2 separate regions of the Homo sapiens genome follow, and region 2 is linked to region 1. The links are contacts of gene promoters, found by promoter capture Hi-C in human tissues and cell types (Jung and others, 2019). All regions are on one chromosome and are shown on one strand. Each heading gives the region's core, a stretch centred on a gene start or on the middle of the fragment in contact. The rest is flanking DNA. Distances are from core to core; before and after follow the strand shown. Region 1 holds the start of BCL11A (BCL11 transcription factor A). Region 2 overlaps LINC01122 (long intergenic non-protein coding RNA 1122).

Region 1 (2,549 bases), core at 30-2,529:
GTCTCCCCGCTGCTCCTGCGAGCCTGTCGCTCTCTCTCCATTCCCATTTTCTCTTTCCCTGGGTAACAGCACAGGAACAGTTGTGCTCTGCCCGTAAGAAACATTTTCTTCCCATCCCTCTGTGCTTTTGCAGTTGCTCTGGAGTGGGAGGGGGTGTGTCCCTCCCAGGGACCCGGCTCGGGGACCTCCCGCGGCGCCGTGAGCACATTCCCAGGGACTGGGACTCCCGGGACTGCCCGCGCTTTGTCCTCGGCCTCTCAGAGAGGTGGACGCCTCGGTGCCTCTCTTGCCCAGGCCCCCGGCGCTCCCCTCCGGGGGCCAGACTCTGGCTCCTCGTTCTTTATTCCTCGGGCTCTCTTTCTGCGACCCTTAGGAGCCGGGGACTCGGCGCTTTCAGTTGCATTCAGACCCAGTCGCTTGGCGGGGCGCTCAGATTCCCGGTCCCTGGCTCGGCCTTGGGGGCGCCCTCGGGCCCCGGCCTGCGCCGCCTGCCTCTCCCCGGTCCCCTCTTTCCAGGCCGCGCGGGCTCCTGGAGACTTGGGCGCTGCCCTTCCGGACCCGCAGCCCTCCAAACTTAGGCTGGATTCCGCGTTGCCGTGCGCTCCCTCCCACCTCCCCTCGCCCGCTGCGGAGCTGTAACTTGGAGGCTCAGCTCTCAACTTCGGGTGATTTTTCTTTGCTGTCCTCTCCTCGGGCAAAGTTTCCCGAGCGCAGCCGCGGGCTCGGGGCTTTTACTTCGGCCCCTGGCGTCCACACGCGGGGAGCGAGCGCGGCGGCGGCGGGGAGGGGAAGTGGGTGTGCGTACGGAGGAGGGTGTCCGGGAGCAACTCTACCTGGCTTCCCTCCGCCCGCGCTTCCCCAGCCCGGGGCTGCAGCCTCCCGGTGCACTCTCGCTCTATTTTTTTCTTTTTTGAATAATCTTTCATTTTAGAGTCCGCGTGTGTGGGGGGGAGCAGGGCGCACGTCTTGCTCCCCCCCACCCTTTCCTCCCACCCCTGCCACCCCTTTCTTCTCTCCCGGCCACGCCACCGCCGCGGCGCTCGCTGCGGCCACTGGTGAGCCCGCGGCCCCAGCGCCCCCTCCCCTCGGCCCGCCCCTCCCCCGGGGGCCGCGTCTGGCGTCCGCGGAGCCCCCCGCCCCGCACCTCCCCCTCCCCGCACTGGCCATTGGCTTGTCCTGGTCTCTTTTTCATGTCCAGCCCCTGATGTGTGTCCATTGGTGTGAGCTTCCCCTTCCCTCCTCCCCTTCTCTCCTGCTCGCCCTGCCCATGTTTTGTGTGTCTCTGTCCATCCAGACTCCTGACGTTCAAGTTCGCAGGGACGTCACGTCCGCACTTGAACTTGCAGCTCAGGGGGGCTTTTGCCATTTTTTTCATCTCTCTCTCTCTCTCTCCCTCTATCTCTCTTCTCTCTCTCTCCCTCTTTTTTTTTTTTTTTTTTTTTTTTTTTTTGCTTAAAAAAAAGCCATGACGGCTCTCCCACAATTCATCTTCCCTGCGCCATCTTTGTATTATTTCTAATTTATTTTGGATGTCAAAAGGCACTGATGAAGATATTTTCTCTGGAGTCTCCTTCTTTCTAACCCGGCTCTCCCGATGTGAACCGAGCCGTCGTCCGCCCGCCGCCGCCGCCGCCGCCGCCGCCGCCCGCCCCGCAGCCCACCATGTCTCGCCGCAAGCAAGGCAAACCCCAGCACTTAAGCAAACGGGAATTCTCGCGTAAGTAACCCAATAATAGTAATAATAATTATTAATAATCACGAGAGCGCGCAGGACTAGAAGCAAAAGCGAGGGGGAGAGAGGGGTGTGTGCATGCATTTTTAAATTTTTCACGAGAAAAACCTCCGAGAGTCGAGGTAAAAGAGATAAAGGGGGAAAAAACCCTCATCCCATCTGGAACCATTGCCGTGTATGCACTTTTGAGACAGCACGCACCTTTTAATTTTATTTAATTTTACAAAAATTTGACTCCTCCTCTTTCCTCCTTTCCGCCGCTTTATTTCTCTTTTCGAAAAGGAATGCAATGATTCCACTCCCCCCCCGCCCCGCCAGTTTTGCAAAATAATGAACAATGCTAAGGTTGCGAACAACTCACATGCAAACCTGGGGGTGGGAGCTGGTGGGGAAAGGGAGGTTGCTTCCCACTCACCGTAAGAAAATGGGGGGGTAGGGAGGGAGTGAGTACAAGTCTAAAAAACGATTCCCGGGGAGAAAAGAGGTGAGACTGGCTTTTGGACACCAGCGCGCTCACGGTCAAGTGTGCAGCGGGAGGAAAGTAGTCATCCCCACAATAGTGAGAAAGTGGCACTGTGGAAAGGGGCCCCCGGCGCTCCTGAGTCCGCGGAGTCGGGAGAGGGGCCGCGGCGACGGGGAGAGCCGTGGGACCGGGAAGGACGGGAGACGCGGCCGGCACTGCCGCCTTTTGTTCCGGCCAGAGGTGGGTGTTTGTCCCGCTGCCTTTTGTGCCGGCTCCTCGCGCTTGCCCTCCCGCGCCGCCGCCGCCGCCGCCGCCGAAGGGCAGGAGCTAGGGCCGGGGGAGGAGGCGGCCGGG
Region 2 (2,549 bases), core at 29-2,528, 1.5 Mb after region 1:
TAGTGAACAGGTAGCTGCAGTTTGGTGTCATCTATTTTATTTAGCTCTTTTATCAAACCAGCTAGGTAATTAAAGGTTCATACTCAGGGCCACAAATTGGCAAATATTTTTGTTGCAGGCCAGATAGCAAATACTTTTGTCTTTTGGTCCATATAATTTCCATCACAGCTACTCAACCCTGCCATGTGTGCAAAAACAGCTACAGATGATGTGCAAACAAATGAGTGTGACTATGTTCTGATAAAGCTTTATTTACAAAAACAGGCAGTGGGGTAGATTTGGCTCACAGGCCATCATTTGTCAACCCCTGCTCAGGACAATTCAACCAACGGACTGTGGAAAGAAAGTAATGTATGCCCAGCCACAGCAGAGAGTAAGTGCTCAACAAATATATTTTGAATAAAAATTAGTATTAATTAAACTAAAGCACACACACACACACATTTTACTCAACACTAGAAAAATGAAGCTACCTCGAAATCAGAATCTATGATTTAAAAAAATTAGTGACTTCTTGGAATCAACAAAACTAAGTAGCAAATGAACATGAAGGAGACACAGATTTAGCAAACTGGCTCTCATTAATGTCAATGAGCATTTAAAGCTAATGTTCATGGAAGCTAAGTAAAGGCAAACTGCTCTTCACAATCAACTGGCCGCAAAGGATGCCACTATATTATACAATACCATATAAAAACTGAGATTTACAGTTATGCCCTTCTGCCATCAAAATAAGAGAATGTTGGAGAAAATGTTGGCTACGTCAGGGAGATGTGAAATGTTTTTTGTTGGTTGGTTGGTTGATTGGTTTTTTGAGATGGAGTCTTGCTCTGTTGCCCAGGCTGGAGTGCAGTGGCGCAATTTGGGCTCACCACAACCTCTGCCTCATGGGTTCAAGCGATTCTCCTGCTTCAGCCTCCTAAGTAGCTGGGACTACAGGTACGTGCCACTATGCCCAGCTAATTTTTTTATTTTTATTTTTAGTAGAGACGGAGTTTCACTATGTTGGCCAGGCTGGTCTCAAACTGACCTCATGATCTGCCCACCTCGGCCTCCCAAAGTGCTGGGATTACAGGCATGAACCATCGCACCTGGCCCAAAATGTATTTATTTTTTTAAGGTACACATTGAAATGAGAAGTTTTAAAATAATTATCTCTCTTGAAAATATGAGCTTTATTTATCTCATAAATAAGCTTCAGATTTGAGGGTAACATTCTGGATCTCGGTCCAAGCACTGCTTCTTGCCCTATAGCCAGAATCTTCTCATCCAGTGACAAGGGCAGGGCCAGATAATCCATGGTACACAGACCCTGATTCTAAAATTCAGTGAGTCCGATGCTAGCTTCCACTGTCTGCTTTTTAGTTAGAGAATTCCTGACTTTTTCTATTATGTTTATTACCTAAAGGTGAAGTGTTGGATTGCTTGTTTTTTTCCTCCCCTACTAAGCAGGTTTTCACTCCACTTCCCACATCCCACCCCAGACCTCTCACAAAAAGAGTCTCATCTGATATGTGAATGCAGCTTATCTCCCCATAGGTAGCCAGGAACAGGGTGCACAGTCAAGGCAACCCCAAAAATGGCCTCTCTCCCGGCCGCGCCTGCAAAGTCGTCCTGAGCGTCCTGAACGTTCCTCAGCTGGAGGGGCTTTTCCCTACTCAGTGTCTGGACCATTGCCAAGAAGATCTGTCCAGCTGTAAGCCTGATTTTATATAGTTATTTTCACTTATTTTTTATTTTGCAAAATGTAAACGAATCTGTTTAGCTAGGAAATCACGTCCCTTGAAAGTGATTATAACCTAATTTGACATGCAGTATTTGTATACTTATTCTAGTGTTATGATGCATTTACTGTGTTTACATAAATACAGATTTCTGTATAATTACCACAAGATAATGTAAAGAGTTAATCATATGAAATCCCCCAAAATCTCATTTGAGTGATTTTTTTTTTTTAATTTGAAAGTAAATTTTCCTTTAGAAACAAATTGGGCCCATTTCCAAAATATTCTATACATCTTCTTTGAGAGGCTCACAAAAACATCTACTTTATCCATTCTTACTGATCATTAATTGATATGGTCTAATTGCCCTTACACCTAATACGTGCCAAATAGCAGCAAAGATAGCATAGACATGAGTCTTGCCTTCAAGGGTGTTACATGTAAACAAGTCTGGAAGGGCTTCATGGGGAAAGGTGGAACTCTGCCTTGAACTTATCGGCTGATCTTTGATAATCACTATGGTTCCTTCATGATCTATACAATGAAAACTGAATGTAAGAAAAGATTTTTATAGAAGAAATATCAAAAAGAGAGGCAACTAGCATGAAGGAAGAACTATACAGATTTTAAAACTTACCTCTTTTTATTTTATTGACAAATGAAAGAATTTCCCTCAAATTGGAATACTTTACTAAAACTGGGAAGGAGTAATCACATAAAGAACAACCCAATAGTTCTATACTCATACACCAACTGAAGCTATACTAGTAGATAGCAATATACAAGTATATCAATATACTACTTTTTTATCTTTCTGAAGGTAAA

Evidence for each region. The method cuts DNA at HindIII sites, captures the fragments that hold promoters and counts their contacts. A contact is called where the count stands out against the background at its distance.
Region 2: a fragment that was not itself captured here is called in contact with the fragment with the promoter of BCL11A in region 1 in 1 of the 25 tissues and cell types used here (dorsolateral prefrontal cortex).

Annotation. Positions count from the first base shown.
Region 1 is chr2:60,552,384-60,554,932 of GRCh38, reverse strand. BCL11A (BCL11 transcription factor A) reads left to right here and starts at 1,279. Exons shown (of 4, transcript NM_022893.4): 1 at 1,279-1,717. The coding sequence starts at 1,663. RefSeq lists an enhancer at 1-19 and silencers at 710-799, 2,209-2,549. The HindIII fragment of the contact is 9,532 bases long and covers 1-2,549 here.
Region 2 is chr2:59,061,449-59,063,997 of GRCh38, reverse strand. LINC01122 (long intergenic non-protein coding RNA 1122) reads right to left here. Exons shown (of 14, transcript NR_033873.1): 14 at 232-2,549. Among named protein-coding and RNA genes, the nearest start is that of LINC01793, 150 kb to the left of the region's middle. The HindIII fragment of the contact is 3,651 bases long and covers 1-2,549 here.